Linked DNA regions of Homo sapiens: all the other regions are linked to region 2. Evidence: promoter capture Hi-C in 16 types of primary human blood cells and fetal thymus (Javierre and others, 2016). All regions are on one chromosome and are shown on one strand. The core of a region is centred on a gene start or on the middle of the fragment in contact, and the rest is flanking DNA. Distances in the headings are between cores, read along the strand shown. Region 1 overlaps VPS26C (VPS26 endosomal protein sorting factor C). Region 2 holds the start of PSMG1 (proteasome assembly chaperone 1). Region 3 holds the start of DYRK1A (dual specificity tyrosine phosphorylation regulated kinase 1A).

Evidence for each region. The method cuts DNA at HindIII sites, captures the fragments that hold promoters and counts their contacts. A CHiCAGO score of 5 or more calls a contact.
Region 1: a contact is called between a fragment that was not itself captured here and the fragment with the promoter of PSMG1 in region 2, in 1 of 17 cell types (fetal thymus). The highest score is 6.3, in fetal thymus.
Region 3: a contact is called between a fragment that was not itself captured here and the fragment with the promoter of PSMG1 in region 2, in 2 of 17 cell types (total B cells and fetal thymus). The highest score is 7.7, in total B cells.

Annotation. Positions count from the first base shown.
Region 1 is chr21:37,254,617-37,258,013 of GRCh38, forward strand. The region is part of intron 1 of VPS26C (VPS26 endosomal protein sorting factor C); the gene reads right to left. Among named protein-coding and RNA genes, the nearest start is that of VPS26C, 11 kb to the right of the region's middle. RefSeq lists enhancers at 2,673-2,772, 2,858-3,397, 3,183-3,397. The HindIII fragment of the contact is 2,309 bases long and covers 553-2,861 here.
Region 2 is chr21:39,182,175-39,185,645 of GRCh38, forward strand. PSMG1 (proteasome assembly chaperone 1) reads right to left here and starts at 1,277. Exons shown (of 7, transcript NM_003720.4): 1 at 1,078-1,277. The coding sequence starts at 1,211. BRWD1 (bromodomain and WD repeat domain containing 1) reads right to left here. Exons shown (of 41, transcript NM_033656.4): 41 at 3,308-3,471. RefSeq lists silencers at 953-1,032, 1,233-1,452. The HindIII fragment of the contact is 4,125 bases long and covers 1-3,089 here.
Region 3 is chr21:37,363,740-37,367,263 of GRCh38, forward strand. DYRK1A (dual specificity tyrosine phosphorylation regulated kinase 1A) reads left to right here and starts at 3,034. Exons shown (of 12, transcript NM_001347721.2): 1 at 3,034-3,524. RefSeq lists enhancers at 1,570-2,495, 2,027-2,106, 3,420-3,524 and silencers at 2,247-2,426, 2,457-2,766, 3,347-3,496. The HindIII fragment of the contact is 571 bases long and covers 1,109-1,679 here.

The DNA.
Region 1 (3,397 bases), core at 457-2,956, 1.9 Mb before region 2:
CCTGGCCAGCATGATGAAACCCCATCTCTACTAAAAATACAAAAAATAGCCAGGCATGGTGGCGGGCACCTGTAATCCCAGCTACTTGGGAGGCTGCGGCAGGAGAATTGCTTGAACCAGGAGGCAGAGGCTGCAGTGAGCTGAGACATTGCATTCTGCCTGGGTGACAAGAGCAAAACTCTGTCTAGAAAAAAAAAATAAATAAAAGAAAAGAAAAAAAGAGCTCAGCAAAAAGAGCACTGTAGGGTAGATCACGTGTTAATTAAGCAGTACGGAACAGGGTCTCTGCTTCAGGTTAATCCAGGGTAGGCTCTGGGGACAGATCACCTAAGGCTGCTCTATGAAACTACTGTGAGATGCAGAGAATGTCATGTGGTTAATTCTGGGCACTGTTCATGGGGCAGCAGAGGAGAAGGGGCAGAAGACATTCTTTTGTATTAGTTGCATTTTCTTAGCAAGTAAAAATATATATTTTCAATTTACAAAATGGTTTTTTAAAATCTGAAACACACGGTCAAACTATCATGACTGTATTTTTTTTAGATTAGAAAAAGCTTAGTTTTTTTCCTGATGATTACTGAAGAATGGGATTTCTGCCCATCGGTTCCTAATTTTCCATTGACAGGACTGCTTGCTGCTCCTTTCCCAAAGGTGAAGATTTGGGTTTTAGAGAAATTGTCTTAAATAATTCTTTCTGATAAAACAAAGGAAGAGCTAATTTTGGGCTGAAATCATGCCTGGCATGTGACAGTAAAACCATAAACGTAAATAAGACACTGTCATGGGGGAACGGTAGTGAGGATGAAGGGACCGCGACCATCACTGGAAAGCATGTGAGCCAATGCTACTGGCCACCAGAGACCTGCCCAACGGATCAGAGCACACACAGCAGGTGTAACCCTCACAGCTACCCAGAGGTCAATTCTGTCTGAGCATCAGTAATCCAGGGTCAGGACAGCTTGTTCCTATCAGAAGCAAAAGGGCCACAATCTCATGTTGTCCTTCCCAGCTCAAGTTCCCAGGACAAGTAAGTAGGACAACAGTGAAGGTCTCCAGAGCCCACCAGCTTTTGCTGAGACTGCTAGTCCAAGAGCCCCAGCTGAGTAAATTCTCCAGGAGGAAAATGGCAGAAACTATCAAAGGATAGTCAGTAAACTGGTGGGTCTGTACCTTTTTGGCTTAAATGCTCCAGTAAATAAAGGCAAAATATTTAAAGCCTCATTCTATGCACTGCATTTTTTTTTTTTTTTTTTTTTAGATAGAGGCTGGAGTGCAGTGGTGCAATCTCAGCTCACTATAACCTCCGCCTCCCAGGTTCAAGTGATTCTCCTGCCTCAGCCTCCTGAGTAGCTGGGATTACAGGTGCCCGCCACCACACTAGGCTAATTTTTGTATTTTTAGTAGAGACAGGGTTTCTTCATGTTGTTCAGGATGGTCTTGAACTCCTGACCTCAGGTGATCTGCCTGCCTCGGCCTCCCAAAGTGCTGGGATTACAGGCATGAGCCACCGTGCCCGGCCCTAGGCACTGTATTATATCTGAAAGCTAACAGAACTTGTAAGTTTTGACACAGGACCAAATTAAATGGGTTGGCATGAAAAAACTTCAACTTTGTTGCCTCTTGCTAGTCACAACATCCTATAACTAATACTTTACAAGAGAACCACTGGCCGTAGGCCTGTGAAGACACCTCAGCAGCCACTTTGGGATGTGAGGAAGAGTCAGGGAAGGGAGGGAGGAAATAGATATTCTCACTTAAAGTAGAACAGCTCTGCTTTTATCTGTTTATAAAATAAAGTATTTTAATATGTATTATTAAAATTGACATTAGAATTTTATATAAGACTTCATTTAATAAAAGGGTTTCATTGCTTTTTTGGAAAATCTTTATGCTAAACGATGTTCATTTTATTGACTTATTTATAAGGAAACAACCATTTGTAACTTACCAGATGAAAGGTAAAATCTATTTTCTATCACCTTGGAAAGGCACTATTTCTCTGAGCCTGGATTTGTTTTCTGCCAACAAGTGACGGCACAAGCTCTCTATTACAGAGAGTAAAAAGCCCAGGCAGTCTTTTTCATGGCTGCTCACCATGTAAACATGTCCATAAAGTGTTCTGTGTAGCTAAGTTAGAGGACAAGAAGAAGTACTTTACAAAAATTACATCTTTACATATTTGCGTTTGTATGACATACTTTTTTCTTTTATTCCTGATAATAAAGTTTTACCATTTTATAATTTAAAAATGTAAATATGGAGTTGGGCATGGTGGTTGGGAGGCTGAGACCAGAAGATCGCTTGAGCCCAGGGGTTTGAGACCAGCCTGGGCAACATGCAGAAACCCTGTCTCTACAAATAAAAAATTAGCCAAGCGTGGTAGCACGCACCTGTAATCCCAGCTACTCGGGAGGCTGAGGCAGGAGAATCGCTTGAGCCTGGGAGGTGGAGGCTGCAGTGAGCTGAGACTGTACCACTGCACTCCAGCCTGGGTGACAGAGTGAGGCTCTGTCTCAAAAAAACAAAACACAAAAAAACAAACAAAAAAAAGCAAATATATGTAAAAATAGGAAGTGCGGTTTCCCAAAATGAGGTCTGTAAACAACTGATCTAGAAAATGTTCTGGAAAAAGTAAAAAAGGATCAGGATCTGAGGTCAACTGACCTCTCCCTGCGCTCTGGACAGGCAAACAGGCAAGGTTCCCTCTGAGGCCGTAGCGGCTTCTCGTGGGCGAGTCCCTGTTCGCAGGTGACGTGTGGACCACGCTCTTCCGAAGCGTCTGGCCTGTGTGCTCTCGGGGAGGGGACGCAGGTCAGCCCACCTAGCCGATGGCTAACAAGTCAGTTTGTTTTCTGAACGGAAGCTTAAACCTAGAAAAGTAACTGGGTTGGGGTGGGGGTGTAGCCACATGCAGTAAAAGCACTGCCTGTCTGTATAACAACGACCTGATGAAAAAAGGAACGCGTGAAATGGGGAGTGTTAGGGCGTCACAAACTCCAGTGTGGTTGAAATGAAAGCAGAAAGCAAATGGCAAGCTGGCTTCCCCTTCCAGCTTTTCACAACCCTGCCTTGCTCATGGTCAGCCCCAAGCACGGGCGGAAGAAAGGACTGGAGGGGAGGGAAAGGGGTGGGGAGCGAGGGTACCAGAGGCGTGGGAGGACGGGGACAAAGGGGCAGCAAGGGACCGGCGGAAAGGAAAGTCGGCGTTAGCTGGATTGGAAACAGTCCAGACAGAACGATGGGCTCTGCTGCCTCCGGGTGGGGCACCAAGCGGGGAGCGGGGCCACGAGGCAGGGGACAGTGAAGCACCATGCAGCGCCCACCAGCCGGCAGCGCCCACCAGCCTGCGCTGCGCTGCACATGGTACCCGCGGCCCCAGCTGGCCAGTGTGTGGCGG
Region 2 (3,471 bases), core at 27-2,526:
GCACCACTTAGTAGAAGCATTCTTGCCGACAAAACTTTGAATGAGAATCTGACCAAGCCTCCAAATGAACATTCATTTTACAGGACATGCAGGTGATACAAACGTTAAGTGACACCACAACGAAGCTATCAGACAAATTCAGAGTGTGGGGGCACTGGACAAGACAATCAGTCCTGTCTCTTAGGAGGGGTAAGAGGAGGTTGCTCTAAATGAAGTGACACGTCTAAATGTAACCTGTGGACCCTGTTAGGATTCTCATTCACGCAGACCACTGTAAAATGTCATGTTTGAAAAAACTAGGTAAACGTGAGTGAGCATGGACTACAAAATGATACTGGAAAATTAGTATTAGTGTTGTTAGGGGTGATAATAGCATATGTAAGAAAATCCCTAAAACGTTTGAGATGTATTCTGAAAAATGTAGAGGTGAAAGGCCATGATGACTGGAATTCGCTTAGGAGTGGCGGGAGAGAAAATAAACGTGGCAAAATCTTCCTGTTGAATTTACCCGGTTGTGTAGGGGTCAGGGCTCACTTGACTATTTTCTCCCACTTTTTTGTGTTTGGAAACAATTTTTTTAAAGCGTGTTCATCGGCTACTGACACATCATGCTAATTGAAGTGTTGGGTGCAGGTTTAAAAAGTTTCGAGGGAATTGGTGTGTCCGTGAACAATCCACGACAAACGTGGTGGGGCCCGCGGGAGCGCTGCGGCCCAAGACAGTGTGACAAGCGGGAAGATCACGAGTCCGCAAGACACCAAGCCTCCAGAAATGCTCCAGAAACGCTCCAGAAAGCCTTTAAAGAACGGATTTGAACCCAGCCCTCCCACAGCGGCTTCACCCTGGACTCCACGAAACGCCAGCAGATCCACGCGAGAACCACACACACCTGGGGCTGGCGCCGCTGGACGCCGCGGCTTCACGGAGACCCAGGGCCCAAGCAGAGCCAAGGAGCGGCGGCAACCGCGGGGGCCACTCGGAAGACCGCGGAGCCCCGGCCTTAGGCGCCGTCGCGGCTGCCAGGCCCGCGCACCTTCCAGCTGCGGTGAGCGCGCTGCCCTTATCCCGGTGCCTCACCTCTTCCGCGCCAGCTGCAGACGCACCTCCCTGTCCTCGGGCGTCTCCCTCCGCCCCTCCTCCTCCTCCTCTTCGTCCTCAGTCCCAGCTCGGCACGGCGCCTTCACCACCTCTCCGAAGAACGTGGCCGCCATAGCCGCCCCGTGACCGGCTGGACACAACTGCAGCGCCGCGGGACCGCACGCCGGCTTGCGCGAGACCACGCTCCCTCACCGCGCGGGCAATAAGTCCCGCCCCGCACAGGCCACGCCCTCCGCGCACAGCCCAAGCTCGCGGCCACACCCCCACCGCGCGGGCGCTACGTCCCGCCCCGCACAGGGCTCGCTCCCAGGCACACCCTGAGCTCGCGGCCACGCCCTCTACACCGCCCGCCCGCGCTGTCATGCCCTGGGCCAGCAGTCCCCGCAGCTTTTTTGTTTTTAAATTACAGATTGGGGGAGGGGGTCTCGCTATGTTGCCCAGACTGGTCTCGAACTCCAGGACTCTAGCGATCGTCCTCCTTAGACCTCCCAAAGTGCTTGGATTACAGGCCTCAGCCACCGCGTCCGGCCCCCAAAGGCTTTCATTCGCAGCTTGAGCCCTGCGGGCGCCAGGAGGTGGGAGGACTGCGGGCTAGAGGGGCAGGGGGCGAGAGGAGGGCGGGGCCTCCGTTCGTGGCGGTAGCGGAACCAGGGGTGCAGGGGCGGAGCCAGCGCCGCTGGCCGTGGCGTCCGGGAGCTGTGGGGCCGTCCCCTCATCGTCCGTTTCCATTTTCCTTCTGCGTTAGGAGAGACTGGGGTAGCATTAGTGTACTGAGCACCCGCTCCAAATTTCGACTGCCCAGGTAGGTGGCGGCGCGGTGGTACTGAGGGCCCCCGTAGCCAGGCGCGCCCTCAGACAGCGGGCACGGGCGGACGCAAGGGCAGCAAGAAATACAGCGCTTCGTGGTGGTATAAAAACGAGACCTTTACTCTGGCAATAGGAATTCACATTTCAAAAGCTGATGATTGTCAAGGCGATTTAAAAAACATTTTTATGAGTGTAAAAAATAGTGTTTTAAAGTTGGCCATTTTCTAATACAAAATGTTTCTTTTTAAATAGCCTTTAATAAGCAGAATGTGTGATTGTTCTTTAATTGGTTCTCTTTAAAATGTGCTGGAAGACAAAGTTCGAGGAGCACTGTTTCAAGCAAGAGAAAAAGGGGACATAATTTAAATGAAAATGAAAATATGCAGTAATGCAATGAAAAAACCGTTTCCTAGATTTAGTTGTACCGAAATACATGACATCGCCTGCATTTTGTGACTTTGTCAGTAGTCACGAAGGTAAGTACTACTTTGGGGTCAGAGAGAGCCTGTTGAGATAAAATCTCAAAGCTGTTAGAAACATTTTAAGATGTGGAAAGATAATCAACAAAATCATTTACATAAAATTAGTACTTAGCAGATGTACACATCTGCAAAAATAAAGTGAGTTTGGAAGCAAAATTTGAACATTTAGCAATAAAATTAAGACGAAATTGCTAGCCAGTAAGAGCTTAGGAAACTGGATATCCTTAGTGAGATAGAATAAACAAGATCACCACAATGATGTTTTAAAACATTAGGACTCCTGGGTTAACTGGTCTATTATGATGATGGAACTGCAGAATAAAAAGGTTGTTTGGGCACCACTTGTCTTAGTCCTTTTGTTAATTTGTCATTTTTACCAGTAAGATCTTCAATTTGATTTCACAGTTCCATGATGAAGAAATATTTTCTGCAAAGCAAATTACTGTAAATAGGGTAATAGTAATACATTTGGCCATGATTTAAATTCTGCACACATTTCAGAGAGAACAATTTTACAATGTTAAGTTTTAAGCAAATGCTTATTTCATGCAGTTACAATAAGTTTAGGCCAAGCACTTTTTAAAAAGGCAAATATGTTCGAATTAAATACTTAGCCAAAAAAGGATTTCATTATGCAAGACTGATAATACAATCTCAAATACTGACAGAAATTAACCCCACCACAGCAAATTATAAATTCAAAGCTTAAATTCTTTCATTACACTGAAATTGCTAAAAAAAAAAAAAAAAAAAAAAAAAAACTTTGCATAAAATAGTCTTCACCGAGTTAAGTATTTCATTTTATAGTTACTTGTTGAGGACATAATATACTCAATAAATATTATAAATTAAGTGTAAAATTTGAACTGGAAAGAAGTTTAAGCATTTCATTAGAGCTCAAAAATCAAACCCCATGCACCTAAAAGTAATAGCAGTTTATTAGGAATTCTTCCCTTTCTCACCTGTGTATCAACATATTGGGGATCAGTAATTTAGATGAAAGTATACTACAAAAGGAGCAAAGGACACAGACTTAGTAGGTTAGAATATTCTGGCTTATGCTAAAAAACAAAAAGCCTTTTTT
Region 3 (3,524 bases), core at 144-2,643, 1.8 Mb before region 2:
GTTGGCAGGGTTGGTTCCCTCTGATGGCCGTAAGACAAAATCTGTTCCATGCTTCTTTGTCAGCTTCTGGTAGCCTCAGGTGTGCCTTGGTTTGTAGATGGCCACCTTCTCCTGGTGTCTGTACGTTCTTCCCTGTGTTCGTTTGTCTTGGTCCAAATTTCTCCTTTTTATAAGGGCAGCAGTCATTTTGGATTAGGGTTCAATCTAGAGACCCAACTCGATTACCTCTGTGAAGACTCTAACTCCATATAATCTTGAATCATCTTGGTGTGGTAGAAAGAACATGGGCTTTGCAATTATACCTGTGTTTGAATCCTGGCTTCACCACTTACTGGTGAGTGGTGACTGCCTTGAGAAAGTCATGTAATCACTCAGGACTTGTTTTCTCATCCACATAATGGGGATGTAATGTTGCTGTGAGGATTAGAGATACTCTAGAACATGCTGGGTAAGTGGAGGCTGTTACTACCTATGAGCTGAGGGCCTTTGCTTTTCAAGGTGAACAGTCTATGAATAAACACATCTGTAAGTGAATCTAATGGGAAGATTCTTAGATGACAAGGATTTCATCTGTGAACCAGGTCAGCTGGCATCTATACCAGAGTCCTTCCGGCCTACATGTGGTCACTTGTTTGGAGCCAGCTGTAATTCACAGGTTACGTTTTTAGGTGAAGCCTGTATAAAACCATTTTACAGCATTCCAACCTGGATATGACATTCATTGACCAATGTTGTCTAAGGCTGTCACACTGGGGAGAAAAGGGGTGCAGCCTTCTAGATACGAAGACCAGCAATGCCTTCTATACCCGCATGTTTATAATCTCAAGATTCTGCCCCACTCCGATATCTTCTAGGTTGATTTGAACTGAAGACAAGGACACATATCTTGAGACATTATCATATTCTGTTCAGGTTACCTGGAAGATTAACTATACAAGTTTCTTCCATTACCAGGAATAAAAATTTGAGTCAAATTTAATTTAGTATTAAAGGTTGCAAATGCTGATGTGCTCTGATAGAAGCGAAAGCTTGGTGAATGGGGTGGGATGGGGTGGGGGCAGGAAGGAGACCCACAAGCAGAGAGGAAGAAGTTGGTTGTATAGGTGGAAGCTTGAGCTTGGGAGGAACCAGGTAGGGACCTCTCCTCTGAATAAGGGGCGCTCTGGGCCACTTCCTCTTTCTTCAAAACAATTAAGTTGACCGTGGACCTTAATCACACTAGCAGGGCAATTTTGAAACAATAATCCGAAAGAACTTTTGCCAGCTACGGCAACTTTTTTATATCATGGAGATCAGCCTGAAAGCAAGCTATTTGCCCGACCACTTTTTGACCAATTTATTTTCGGTTTAGTCAGGTTTCTTCCAAGTCTGTGCTAATCTGAATGGTTACCTTAGTAATTACTTTTTGACTAATTTATTTTCGGTTTAGTCGGATTTCTTTCAAAGTCTGTGCTAATCTGAATGGTTACCTTAGTATATCAATGTCCTAGTAACTGTAGCAAGGACATTTTTGCTGGAAATCATTTAAAGCAGGTGTATTTGAGTCATGTAGCATAGACAGCGGCATTTACTGCGAGTTTTTTACATCTAATATTGTTTATAAGATTTTATCTGTTGTCACATTTGTGAAATTTATGAAAAAAATTGGTTACGAACACTATCACAAGGTGGCAAAATCAAGCTTAGAAATCAATTAGTGACTCTGCTGTAAAATAGTATATATATACACACACACTCTTTTTAGGTATACATTTATTAAATGCCATTAGAGTTGGTACAAAATACAATTTTTAGCTGGTGGCTCTCTACCGATTACAACGCAGCCAGCACAGCATACTTGGGTTTTCAAGCCTCGGGAGCTCACCCAGCAATACATAGCTAGGGAGAAGGGGTAGGGAGAATAAAAATCAGCGAAAGCCAGGATATTAATAAAGAGTTTTGATGGTTAAGGACAAGCAGGCGAATTAAGACTCTGGAAACCGAGAAGGTGTATAGAAAAGAAAACCAGAGAGCTGGACGACAAGGACACAGTAACAGCACAAGGGGATTCATCTAAAGGGCATTCCGATGGAGCAGGCAGGCTGCGCCCCGAAAGGTGGGGAGAGGTTGGAAGCAGATGGGCAGGCACAGGCGAGCGTGCACTGCCTGAAAAAGTTTTCATGATGGCTCCAGCCTAATTTCCCAACGCTGGTCTCGGGCGCCACAAAACCTGGGCGGCCCGACCGGAGCCAGGTGCCAGCCTCAGGGCCGCCGGGCCCGGCGCAGCGTCCGGAATTCCTGCGATGTCTGGGGCGCGGCGGTGGCTCCTCCCCGCCCCCACCACGGCCTCCGCCGGCATTTTCCGGCTAGGAGGCCCGCCAGCCCTTCGAAGAACCGGCTCCACGCGCGGACGGTCGCGGCCGCCGCGCTTCCCGGGGAGAGAGGCGAGCGCGGCGCCCGGACCGCGGTGAGAGCCCTCCAGGCCCGGGCGCGCGGGGTGGGCTTCCCGGGTCCCCGCCCGAAGGCCGCGGCGCCCCTCCTCCTCCCCCTCCCCCGCCCGGGGCAGCCCGCCCCTCCCCCCGGCGCGGGCGGGGCTGCGGGCGCCGACGCGGAAGCGCGGGGCGCTAGGGCTGCGGGGGCGGCGGCGCGGGAGGCCGCGCGCGCTCCCCGGGCCGCAGTCGGCGCGGGCGCGGGGCGGGGCGGGGCGGCCGGGAGGCGGCGGGCGATCGCGCACAGGCCTGGCCGCCGCCTCGCCCCCCCTTCCCCAGCCCCTACCCTCCCTCGGCCTAGCCGTCCCCCTCCTCTCCCCTCCCCCGGGCGAATCACGCGCCCTCCTCTGACACTCGTAGCGGACCCGAGCTCCGAATTTATCCTTCACGTGACCTGAGGGGGTTGGGTGGTTGGCTGGGGACAGAGGGGGAGACGGAAAGGAGGGAACGGAATCTGCCGTTACCTGAGCAACAGGCCCCGCCCGCCGGCTCGGGGCTGGGGGGCGGGAGGAGGACGTCAGCACGTCAGCCGGGGTTTTGCGTTTTGATTGACAGTTGCTATAGCGACCGGGTCGGTCCGTCGCCATTTTGTTGGTTGGTTTTTTTTTAAACCCTTTCGCTTCCCGCCCGAATAATAATAAAAAGCCCCATTGGAGTGAGGCGGGGGTGGCGGCGGCAACCGCGGCGGGGGTATCCGGGGAGACTGCTGCTGTCGCTGCTGCTGATCGCGGCCCAGGTCGGCCTCAGAGAGCGGACACCCCGAGCGGGGGGTGCGGGCGCCGCCGCCGCCGCTTCTGCTGCTGCTGTTCCTGCTGCTGCTGTTGGTGCCGCTGCCGCCGCCGGCGAGCAGGCGGGACCGGTGTGAGTGCGAGTGTGTGTGCGAGGGAGCGTGTGCGAGGGCGATTGTGCGCGCGAGTGTGCGGGTGTGTGCGAGTGTCTGTCTGTCTGTGCGGGGACTCGGGGGCGGGCGGTTCGGGCTCTCCTGGCGGAGGAGCCGCCGCCGCCGCCCGGGCCCCGGCGCTTCTCGCTGCGCAGGTTCGGAGCGCGCGCCATTTT